3 separate regions of the Homo sapiens genome follow, and regions 1 and 3 are each linked to region 2. Evidence: promoter capture Hi-C in human tissues and cell types (Jung and others, 2019). All regions are on one chromosome and are shown on one strand. Each heading gives the region's core, a stretch centred on a gene start or on the middle of the fragment in contact. The rest is flanking DNA. Distances are from core to core; before and after follow the strand shown.

Evidence for each region. The method cuts DNA at HindIII sites, captures the fragments that hold promoters and counts their contacts. A contact is called where the count stands out against the background at its distance.
Region 1: the fragment with the promoter of SPI1 here is called in contact with a fragment that was not itself captured in region 2 in 1 of the 25 tissues and cell types used here (dorsolateral prefrontal cortex).
Region 3: the fragment with the promoter of PSMC3 here is called in contact with a fragment that was not itself captured in region 2 in 1 of the 25 tissues and cell types used here (stomach).

What each region holds. Positions count from the first base shown.
Region 1 is chr11:47,376,147-47,380,088 of GRCh38, reverse strand. It overlaps SPI1 (Spi-1 proto-oncogene), which reads left to right and starts at 1,542. Exons shown (of 5, transcript NM_003120.3): 1 at 1,542-1,780. The coding sequence starts at 1,736. RefSeq lists enhancers at 1,379-1,448, 944-1,895, 2,069-2,118, 2,789-2,988. The HindIII fragment of the contact is 21,953 bases long and covers 1-3,942 here.
Region 2 is chr11:46,856,555-46,860,761 of GRCh38, reverse strand. LRP4 (LDL receptor related protein 4) reads left to right here. Exons shown (of 38, transcript NM_002334.4): 38 at 1,447-4,045. The coding sequence ends at 1,779. The region is part of intron 2 of LRP4-AS1 (LRP4 antisense RNA 1); the gene reads right to left. Among named protein-coding and RNA genes, the nearest start is that of LRP4-AS1, 12 kb to the right of the region's middle. The HindIII fragment of the contact is 4,802 bases long and covers 1-3,802 here.
Region 3 is chr11:47,424,799-47,428,658 of GRCh38, reverse strand. It overlaps PSMC3 (proteasome 26S subunit, ATPase 3), which reads left to right and starts at 2,220. Exons shown (of 12, transcript NM_002804.5): 1 at 2,220-2,454; 2 at 2,709-2,792; 3 at 3,413-3,538. The coding sequence starts at 2,380. RefSeq lists silencers at 1,982-2,111, 2,382-2,593 and an enhancer at 2,212-2,411. The HindIII fragment of the contact is 16,812 bases long and covers 1-3,860 here.

The DNA of each region.
Region 1 (3,942 bases), core at 293-2,792, 520 kb before region 2:
GGGTGGATAGGTGGATGAATGGATGGATGGATGAATGGATGGCTGGATGGATGAGTGATACCAAAAAGATACTGCATTTGTATGTTTATCACAGCACTATTCATAATAGCAAAGATACAGAATCAACATAAGTGTCCATCAACGGGTGAGTGAATAAATAACATGTTATATTGTATTTATATATATATATAATGAAATACTATTCAGCCATAAAAAAGAATGAAATTATGTCTTTGCAGCAACATGGATGGAATTGGAGGACATTATCATATGCGAAACAACGCAGAAACAGAAAGTCAAATACTGCCTGTTCTCATGGGGCTCCTGGAAACCGAAGCTGATAGGTGAATGGATGGATAGGTGGATGAATAGATGGGTGGAATGGTAGGTGGGTGGATTGGTAGATGGGTGGATGAGTGGACTGGTGGATGGATGGATGAATGAATGAAGGGGTAGGTGGATGATGGATGGGTTGATGGACAGATGAGTGGATGGGTAGATGGGTGGATGAGTGGATGGGTGGATGGATGGACAGGTGGATGAATGGATGAGCAGATTCATAGATGGATAAACAGATGGAATTGTGGACTGATGGACTGATAGCAGGTGGACGGGCTGATTAATGGACATATAGATGGTTAGATAGACAAGTAGATAAACAGATGGGTGGGTGGATGAATTGACTGACAGATGAATGAACAAACAAACGGACAGTTGGATAAATGGACACATAAGTGAATGCATGGTGGGCTTGATGAATGGATAGCTGGATGGACAAATAGACAGACAAATAGATGCATGGGAAAACAGATGAATGGTGGATAGGCAAGAAAGGTTTGTAAACCAGGAGGGTTAGATTGATATTCAGGCATTGCCAAGGGATGGGGAAACTGAGAAACCTGGGCTGGAAACAGAGCCCTAGGGATTTGAATGTGGTAATCAAGAAGCTGGGAGGGGAGGGTATAAGAACCCAGGACCCTCTTCTGGTGGTAGGGAAGCCCATGTGAACAGATTCAGAGGGAAGGAAGAAAGCAGCACTATGCTGAAGACCCTACACCTGAGCCCAGCCTCAGCCTAGGGATAGCCTAGGCAGTGGGGGTGCAGGGCCACAGGAAGAGCCAGGCCTGATAGCCTGCTAGATCAGAGCCCTCACCCAGGAAGGCTGACTCCAGAAAGTGGAGGCCCCAAGAGGCCACCCCTTCCAGCTCTGACCCCAATGAGGTGACTGTTGGCTACATAGGGATCTCAAAAGAAGCAGGCATTTGTTGGGTTAGAGCAAAAGCCTCCCAGTGGTGTGGCAGAGCTACACGTTCTCCCTCCCATCCTCCCTCCCCAGCTTAGCCCCCAAAGTCATCCCTCTCAGTCCCAGCTTCCTCTGGGCAGGGGGCCTGGACCCCATGGCTTCCCAGGCCAGCCCTTTGAGCACCACCTGCCCCAGCCGGCCAGAGACTTCCTGTATGTAGCGCAAGAGATTTATGCAAACGGGTTGGGGCGGTGATGTCACCCCAAGGGGACTATCTCCCAGCGGCAGGCCCTTCGATAAAATCAGGAACTTGTGCTGGCCCTGCAATGTCAAGGGAGGGGGCTCACCCAGGGCTCCTGTAGCTCAGGGGGCAGGCCTGAGCCCTGCACCCGCCCCACGACCGTCCAGCCCCTGACGGGGCACCCCATCCTGAGGGGCTCTGCATTGGCCCCCACCGAGGCAGGGGATCTGACCGACTCGGAGCCCGGCTGGATGTTACAGGCGTGCAAAATGGAAGGGTTTCCCCTCGTCCCCCCTGTGAGTACCGGGACTCCTCCACCAGCCCAACCCGTGGCCCTCGGACGCCTGCCTGCCTGCCCACGAACCCGCCAGCCCACCCACTGCCCTCCTGGCTTGCTATCAGTGGGAAGTCAGGGTTTCCTCCCTGGAACTCCTGGCCTGAGACCCAGCGAGGGGGCCATTGGCTTCCTCGGAGCATGCCCTGGCGGGCTGAGGCCAGGCCCACGGTGGGGCTGTGATCGGTGGGGCCTGAACAGTTATTTATAGACAGGGCTCGGGTGGCAGGCGGAGGCCGGGGCTCCTGGGGAGGGTGCTGGGCTGAGGATGGTGAAGGCGGTGGTAGAGAGGTAGAGGAGGGAGATGGGGGGACTGGCTTGGGGGAGGCCGGTCCCCTGGATGGGAAGGGGTTGAAGGCAGGAGGCAATGGGCAGAAGTCTTGGCCCATGGCCTTGGGGCTCCTGGAAACCAAAGCTGATGGAACTCTGGGTCCCCAACGCCCAGTCTGGGGCCTGGCACAGAGGACATGATTGTTGACCAAAGGGTCAGGGCCATGGGCCCACAGGGGTACCCACAGGAGACAGGGACTGGTGCTGGAAAGGAGCCAGGAGTGGAGCTGAGACAGTGCAGTTAGGGCTGGCCCCAGGGCTGGAGTTCAGGGAGAGGCGCGGCAGGGGACAGGGCTGGGACAAGGCCAGGACTGAGATTGGGGCTGGGTGGGACCTGGGGTGAGCATGTGATAAGTGAGAATGGGGGCTGAGGCTGGGACAAGGACAGGGACTGGGTCTTGGGGGTGAAGAAGTGGGAGCCCCAGGGGACCCCGAGAAGAGAAGGGCAGATCGCCACTGCTCCTCACTCTCAGTGACAGTTGCAGCCTTAGGCAGGTGTCAGACCAGGGTCCCTCGGAAAGGACCCTTCTCCCTTTTCCCACCCCATGACCTCTCAGGAGTGAGGAGGCTTGAGGGGAGCCGGGAAGGGCTTGGCAGGCTGCCCACCTGAATCCACTTTCCTGGTCTAGAGGCAGCTCCCTTCCCCCACTATGCCCTGGCTCAGAGCCACCCCAGGAGGCTGGGAGGCACCCCAGGCCTGACATCACACCAACCCGACCAGAGCCGGGCTGACATCCTGCAGCGAGGCTGTACTACCTGGAAACCCAGAGGGGCAGGCTCAGTGCTGGGCTCCTGGCCTCCTCACTTGGCCAGCCACAGGCAGGACCAGGCAGGACCAGCCAGCCTGCTGTGGCATCCACACCGACACCCCTTCCCACCTGGGAACACGAAGTGGGCGGCCCAGGCAGAGGGTGACGGAGGTTGTCTCAGAAAGAGCCAATTCTGCCTCAAGAAAGCCACAGGCCCACTGTCTCTGATCCCTGACCTCTCAATTCTGAACTCCAGGTGGAGCTAGATGGGTGGCAGAGCTCCTTGGGCCATCCCTAGGCACCCCCAGCCCTCTCTGCAAGCTCCAGGGTCACTCTGAGTGTCTCCTGGTAGGGTGGGCTCCCAAGGCAGCCCCGGTCCCCCAAGCCCAGCCCTAAGGGCCACAGTGACTGTTATGCAATCCTGGGCCACACGCTGCGGGGGCGGGGAGGCCTGATGACTGTTGGGAAGGCTCCTGGGTGTGCACGGCCCTGTGTCTGTGCCAGTAGGGGGAGGAGGACAGGGAGGAGGGAGGAAGGTGGGAGGAAAGAAGGAGGACAGGGAAGAGGGGGAAGAAAAGGAGGACAGAGGGGAGTGAGGAGGGGGAGGAGGAAGCAAAGGAGACGGGGAGGGGGATGCAGTGAGGAGGGAAGGAGGAGGATAGGGAGGACTCAGGAGGGAGAGTGAGGGGATCAAGGCCCTCCATGCGCTCGGCCCCTAAGTCTGCCTGGGTGACCCCTGCACCAACCGTCAGTGTGGAGGGTCATTGTGGTGCCACTCTTGCCCAGGCTGTGTGAGAGGCATAGGCTGTGAGAGTGGGGCTGGGCAGGCAAGTGTGTGCTGTGCGGTTGAGTGTGCAGGTGGAATGTGAGTGGCTCTGGGGGTGTGAGTGTGTGTGTTGATGGCTGGAACGTGGTGTCATGTGAGTGTCAATCAAGGAGACTCTGCGTGTGTGCATGAGCTGAGTGTACAATGTCTCTGTGAGGTGGGTGACCTCTGAGTGGGTATGAAGATGTGTGTGTGAGGGATAGTGTGCAGGCGCCTGCA
Region 2 (4,207 bases), core at 152-2,651:
GTGTGTTTGCTTGTGTGCTATGTCCCACTCTGCATGGCTGAGGGGACTGTCACTCTCAGAGGGCAGGGACCATGTTTTATATTGTATAATCATCAAAGCACCTAGCACAGTCTTCTGCTTAACATAGGGGCTCAGTAAATATCTGTGGAATTGAATTGTTACAAAAATAGAGCCACAGCCACAGTTGCAGAACTCTTGGCAGGAATACTATCCCAGGGACAGAACCCAAGATGATCCATTTTCTTCTAGCAGTGGTGGTATGTCGGTTGGTATACCCCAGCAGCCAGGAGTGAGGCTGCTCTTTGAAGAAGCCATAAAGGGAGAGGCCCGAGCAGAACTCCAGGCTGTGCCTGGAAGAGTCCCAGGTTTTGCTTGGGAATGGTCCCAGGACTCATGGCAGCAGAGCGAGAGTAACCTCCCAAAAAAGGTTATAAGTTGCAGGACCCCACTATATTGACGTTTAGGACCCAGATAAGAAGATTTCCTTTTTTTTAGTTTTTTTTCTTTCTTTCTTTCTTTTTTTTTTTTTAATGGAATCTTGCTCTGTCACCCAGGCTGGAGTGCAGTGGCATGATCTTGGCTCACTGTAACCTCAGCCTCCGGAGTTCAAGGGATTCTCCTGCCTCAGCCTCCCAAATAGCTGGGATTACAGGCACCCGCCACCAAACCCAGCTGATTTTTGTATTTTTAGTAGAGATGGGGTTTCACCATGTTGGCCAGGCTAGTCTCGAACTCCTGAACTCAAGTGATCTGCCCGCCTGGGCCTCCCAAAGTGCTGGGATTACAGGTGTAAGCCACCACGCCCGGCCAGATAAGAGGATTTTCTAGAGTCCCCTGTCTTACCTCCCAAGTTTTCTCCTTAACAAAATTAGAAAAAAGAGATACAAACTAGCACCCGAAGTAGCTTAAAATCCTGAATAAATGTACATTTAATTGCTCTTGCCAATTGCTTTTGATGATTTATATCAGCATGATGTCCCATTAATAAACCACAGTAACAATGTAACATAGCTAACATGTTATAGTGCATCTTGTGTCAAGCTCCCTGATAACTGCATTCCATGTATCATCTCATTTAAGGTGACAGCAGTTGGTTGTGAGGTGTGGATACTGTTACTCTCCTCACACTGCAGAGTCTTAAGAGACTGAGTTTTAGAAATGTGAAATAATTTGCCTAAGGTGACAAAGCCAGTGAGTGGCTGCTGCAGGACCGGAAGCCATGGTTTTCCCTCCTCCTGTATGGTAATGGTAATAATTATCACAGCTGCCTCTCCCCTTTTAGGCTAGGCCTCATACACTTGTCTTAATCACATTTCCCCATTTGTTTGTGGGATTTTTGTGCGCTTCACTCCTACTCTTACCCCATCCACTTCCTTTTTCAGTTTACCATGGGATCCTTTGTAGAAGGCCAACTGACTGACCATATCTGCCCACTCTCCACCCTAGGGAGGGCCTGACCATAACTACACCAAGGAGAAGATCAAGATCGTAGAGGGAATCTGCCTCCTGTCTGGGGATGATGCTGAGTGGGATGACCTCAAGCAACTGCGAAGCTCACGGGGGGGCCTCCTCCGGGATCATGTATGCATGAAGACAGACACGGTGTCCATCCAGGCCAGCTCTGGCTCCCTGGATGACACAGAGACGGAGCAGCTGTTACAGGAAGAGCAGTCTGAGTGTAGCAGCGTCCATACTGCAGCCACTCCAGAAAGACGAGGCTCTCTGCCAGACACGGGCTGGAAACATGAACGCAAGCTCTCCTCAGAGAGCCAGGTCTAAATGCCCACATTCTCTTCCCTGCCTGCCTGTTCCTTCTCCTTTATGGACGTCTAGTCCTTGTGCTCGCTTACACCGCAGGCCCCGCTTCTGTGTGCTTGTCCTCCTCCTCCTCCCACCCCATAACTGTTCCTAAGCCTTCACCGGAGCTGTTTACCACGTGAGTCCATAACTACCTGTGCACAAGAAATGATGGCACATCACGAGAATTTAGACCTGGATTTTACCATGAACCTCACATCTTGTACTCCATCCTGGGCCCCCTGAAACTGCTTATTCGTGATTCCTCACCAGCGTAGAGCTCCACCTCCCCTTTCCCCAGTACCCTCAGTGCCTGCTTCTCAGTGCTGATGCAGCTGATGACCCAGGACTGCGCTCTGCCCCATCACAGCCAGCATGACTGCTTCTCTGAGAGAACTTGCCCATCAGGGGCTGGGACATGGGGGTGTGGGTAAAGACAGGGATGAAGGATAGAGGCTGAGAGAAGAAGGAAGAATCAGCCCAGCAGGTATGGGCATCTGGGAAACCTCCAGCCTCAAGTGTGTTAGTAACATGAAAAAGCTTTGGGGGGTAGTTGGATCTGGGTGTCTGGTCCATTGCTGGCAGTGGACATTATTCTTGCCCTAAGAGACACTGCCTTTTCAGCAGCAGATACTGGTGAGATGGGGGTGGCTCAGGCTGTTCTTCCTCCTCCTAGAATGTCTGGAGCTGTTTCTACATTCAGATAACTGGGTCCCCTATCACAAGGCTACTGGCTAATAGGAATTCCCTCCTGGTGCCACCACTGGCCAGTACCTTTCCTAAGTCTTTGCTCAAATTAACCAGGTTGTGAGCCAGTGGCTTGAGTGAATGTTAGGCCTTGGGGGCTGAGTCTCTGAAAAGTCTAAGAAGCTCTGCCTAGACCAAATATGGTATACCTCCTGACCCCTCTCTCCCTCATGTCCTGGGATTCTGGGGAAGAGACCTAGAAACAAGCTTTCAAAGAAAAACCAGAAGTTGTCATAAATGGTCAGAAAGAACGATCAGGTTGGAGACTTGGGAAACCCAGGGCCTAAAGAGAAGTATCCATGAGGGTCAAACTTCCTGTTGAACTTCCTATGTTCTTTCTCAAGTGCTCAGGGATCTAAGTTAGTGGACAGCAAGCCTGTGGCTACGGGGTGGTGATGTTCCTCTTCCAGCTGTCCCCTCAGCTAAGGGGCTTAGTTTCCATGTGGGATGCCATCACTTGGTTCATGCTCATTCACACAAAGGGCACGTGTCTCAGCCTGGTATCAGGGAAATTGAGACTTATTTTTGCCCTAAAACGTCTCCCTAGCTGTTCTTCGTGGGGTTTTTTTGTTTGTTTTTTTGCCTAATTTGCTTTTTCTGACCAAGCCTTGTGGCACCAGCAATCTCCAAAGTCCTGTGGTGGGAGGGCTGAATAAATAAAAATACAAAGAGGTGGGTAAGGAGTAGGAAGGTAGAGAGCACCACTGATGAGGCCCTCCTAGCCCATGGCAGACCCAGACCTCTTCTCCCCCAGGAATTAGAAGTGGCAGGAGAGAACAACAGGGGCTGGGAATGGAGGGGAGAATTTCTAGGGGAAGTTTCCTGAGTTGAAACTTCTCCTGTGGTTACTGGTATTGAGAAATCAGCTACCAAAGTGAAAAAGGACAAGATCAATTCTTTTCTAGTCAGTTCTAAGACTGCTAGAGAGAGATACCAGGCCCTTAGCCTTGCTCTCAGTAGCGTCAGCCCCAGTTCTGAGCCTCCCCACATTACACTTAACAAGCAGTAAAGGAGTGAGCACTTTGGGTCCTTAGACTCACGTCTGGGGAGGAAGAGCAAGTAGAAAAGTGGCATTTTCTTGATTGGAAAGGGGGAAGGATCTTATTGCACTTGGGCTGTTCAGAATGTAGAAAGGACATATTTGAGGAAGTATCTATTTGAGCACTGATTTACTCTGTAAAAAGCAAAATCTCTCTGTCCTAAACTAATGGAAGCGATTCTCCCATGCTCATGTGTAATGGTTTTAACGTTACTCACTGGAGAGATTGGACTTTCTGGAGTTATTTAACCACTATGTTCAGTATTTTAGGACTTTATGATAATTTAATATAAATTTAGCTTTTCTTAATCACCTTGCCTGGCTTGGAGTCATGACTAATCCTGCACCTGCTCTGTCTGGCAGACCCATGCTGTGGAAAACCTGCTTACAGACATCACTTTTAAGTCCTTTGTGGATGTGGGCACAGTGAAGAGCAATAAAGAGTGTGAGGTTCCTGCTGGAGTTTTCAGCTCATCTGGAGAAGACAGGTCGAGGCCAGAGTTCCTTGACTGATGAAACCTTTATTTCCTCTGGAAGAGGAATGGTAGATGGGTTTCCTCTTGAGTGCTGACTCTGACTGGTTGGTAGTGGCTGCCTGAGGGCCTATTCGCACCCAATGGGAAG
Region 3 (3,860 bases), core at 971-3,470, 570 kb before region 2:
AGGCCTAGTCAAAAAAAGATGGCTCAGGCCGGGCGCGGTGGCTCATGCCTGTAGTCCCAGCACTTTGGGAGGCCGAGGCGGGCGGATCACGAGGTCAGGAGATCGAGGCCATCCCGGCTAAAACGGTGAAACCCCGTCTCTACTAAAAATACAAAAAATTAGCCGGGCGTAGTGGCGGGCGCCTGTAGTCCCAGCTACTTGGGAGGCTGAGGCAGGAGAATGGCGTGAACCCGGGAGGCGGAGCTTGCAGTGAGCCGAGATCCCGCCACTGCACTCCAGCCTGGGCGACAGAGCGAAACTCCGTCTCAAAAAAAAAAAAAAAAAAAAAAAGATGGCTCAGAAGAGCCTACCTAAAAGTTGGTTAAGGGGAGAATGTCTGCATCCCTCCTAGGCCCAGGCTGGAGGCTTTCTAAACATATTCGTATTTGTCAGGATCTCCAAAAGTAGGCCCCAGAATGGGACCCAACTGACCCAGGCATAGTGGGACCAGCACAGATTGGACAGTCTTTCCCCTCTGGGCTTCTTGGCTCCTATCGGGCAACTCAAAGTGAGAATTTGGGGTCAGCAGTCCTAGTGCTGCCAGTGACTCACTGAATAACCTCCAGCAAGGCACTTAACCTCTCTGAGCCTCCCTATGCTTATTTAAATTTGAGAATGGTAATTCAGTCTGTCCACAAGGCAGGCTTGTTGAGAGAATGGAATAAAGCACTGTTACTTGAGGAGACGCTTTGTCAGCCTGAGTGAGCAGCTGTACATGTTGTTATTTAAAGAAAAAAATTCTGCTTTCAACCGTGTTCCAAAAAAAACTACTGCAAAGGCTAGGTGTAGTGGTTCATGCCTATAGTACCAACACTTTAGGAGGCTGAGGCAGGAAGATCACTTACGCCCAGGAGTTTGAGACCAGCCTGGTCAACATGGTGAAACCTTGTCTCTACTAAAAATACAAAAATTAGTTGGGCGTGGTGGTGGGTGCCTGTAATCCCAGCTACTTGAGAGGCTGAGGCAGGAGAATCCATTGAACCCGGGAGGCGGAGGTTGCGGTAGGGAGAGACCGCGCCACTGCATTCCAGCCTGGGCGACAGAGCGAGACTCCGTCTCAAAAAACAAAAAACAAACAAGCAAACAAAAAAAAGGCAACGATTGCACAGATTTTCATCAGGTTAACAGAGTGTTTGTGATGGTTTGACTTGAAATATAAGCTATGTTGCTTACATGAAGTTCCCTTTAAAGGGGCTCCAGGGCTCACCTCAAAGGATAAGGAGAGATCATTTAAAATAGCCGACAAGGGTACAACGAATGAGTCTCCCATGATCCGGAGACCCGCTCTGCTCACTGAGATTACTAACCATGGTCAGAGAAAACAAACAATTGCAGATACGAGACATAATTTTTTTTGAGACGGAGTCTCGCTCTGTCGCCCAGGCTGGAGTGCAGTGGCGCGATCACGGCTCACTGCAAGCTCCGCCTCCGAGGTTCATGCCATTCTCCTGGCTCAGCCCGGAGTAGCTGGGACTACGGGCGCCCACCACCACGCCCGGCTAATTTTTTGTATATTTAGTAGAGACGGGGTTTCACCGTGTTAGCCAGGATGGTCTCGATCTCCTGACCTCGTGATCCGCCCGCCTCGGCCTCCCAAAGTGCTGGGATTACAGGCGTGAGCCACCGCGCCCGGCCCGAGTCATAATGTTTTTAATCGTAGAGGCTGATGGTCAATTGAGTTCTTCCCACGTGGACAATTCCGTGAAGCCTGCTCTGACGTTAGGAGCAGCAGCGATTTCTCTTTAAAGCTGGTTAATGATTCCCTCCCGTAACTCCGGGTGGCCAGCTTGTACTTAAATAATTGTAAAAATGCGGACTGAGGTGGCATGCCTTTTTGGCCCTTTGCACACGGCTGGCCTATGTCGTTTATTAATTGGGAGGCAGTGTCATTGTGTAAATCCCCTTATTCCTAGCGGGGTCACGGTCTGAGTTTGAACGCGCCCCTCCGCAAGCATCTGTCACGGGCCAGATTAAAGACTACATTTCCCAAAGGCCCTCGCGGATCCCACCCTTCTCCCTCCCTTTCCGGTTTTACACATAGGCCCCGCCCCCAACGCGCGTGTCGGCCAATAGCGGCCCCACCTCTCGCGCCCGGCAAAAATAGGACGCGGGCGGGAACGTTTCGGGGTCCGCGGGGGCGGGGCCTGTGGCCAGGGGTTGGTCTTTGGAATCGGAGAGGCAGATTCGCTGCTCCGCAGCACGGCCGGAGCTGGTCGGGTCAAGAGTCGGGATTTGTGGGGAGAGGTTTTCCACTGGTCAAGAGAAGGCTTTAAGAAAGACGGTATTAATCTCCCGTTGCGGCTCCCGCCTGGTCCCATCTTCTGCCCGCTCCTCCAGGAAATGAATCTGCTGCCGAATATTGAGAGTCCAGTGACTCGGCAGGAGAAGATGGCGACCGTGTGGGATGAGGCCGAGGTGGGCACCGGGCGAGCTGGCGGTCCGGGAACCGGGGCCCGCAGGGAGACGCCATTGACAAGAGGGAAGGAGGTGGCTGGGGGTCAAGGTCTGGCCCGATCCCGGGGACGGGGTTGTTTGGGATGTGGGCAGGGGTCCTGACTCCATCCTGGTTTTATGGGCGTGGAAACTGAGGCTGTGAGTGGGTTCGGAGAACGAGGGATGCTTGTCCTGAGTAAAAGTAAATATATAAATAAACAAATAATTTTTTACAGCAAGATGGAATTGGGGAGGAGGTGCTCAAGATGTCCACGGAGGAGATCATCCAGCGCACACGGCTGCTGGACAGTGAGATCAAGGTGGGCGCACAGCTCCTGTGCGGGCGATGGAGCCCCCACAGGACAGGCCCCGGCGATCCGAGTCGCCTCTCGTACTTCCTAATCGGGCACCCTGGGGGAGACATGGGGCTCGGGCTTCCCCCTCATATCAGGAAGAGAGGAAAGAAAACTAAGCCTTAAAAGGGACAAGAAGACAGGTAGGGGGTGGTGGGAGGCCTGGGCTGAGATGAGAAGTTATCAGATTGCCTTTCCCAGTGAGAACTGGGAATAATCCTCTCAAGAATCCTTCTTTTAGTAAAATGCCTATTTTACAGATGAGGAGACAGGCCCAGAGAGGTTTGTACTGCGATAAAGCACCCAGTTCTTACTATGAGGCAGAACCTAAAACCTATGTTTGCCTCTCTCGGAGGCCTGCTTTTATTCCAATACTACCACTATTTCACCAGGAGGTTTCCAAACTGGCCTCCTCTTTTGACTTCTGCAGGATGTGGACACAGTCAGACTCTGCCTTCAGAGAGCCTCAGAGCTGGATGAATGGATGCGGGAGGGTCCCCTGGGCACCCTGGACCTCACTAGTTACAGGGCTCTAGCATAAGCTGTGCCAGGGTTTATATTTGCTTCTCCTCCCCTCCTGATCTCAGATCATGAAGAGTGAAGTGTTGAGAGTCACCCATGAGCTCCAAGCCATGAAGGACAAGATAAAAGAGAACAGTGAGAAAATCAAAGTGAACAAGACCCTGCCGTACCTTGTCTCCAACGTCATCGAGGTGTGTGTGTATGTGGAGGGGAAGAGAGGGAGTCAGCAGGGAATGGGGACAGCCTGGGGTGGGGCCACTAGGGAAAGAGTGGGTGGAGGTATTGAGGCCAAACTGCATGTCAGAGCTACACCTCCTGGGGCACTTTCATGGGGAAGACGGGGCCTGCAAAGTCCTGGGAGGTCTCACGTGTCTCCTTTTCTGTTGGTTATGTCTCCTCCGGGGTAGATGAGCCCTGTGCAGAGGAGCAGCACCTACACAGAGATCAATCCCTGGGCTTAGCAGGGGCACCCACGTTTGGTGGGCTCAGGGCTATTGGAGGAGGGAGGTAAGG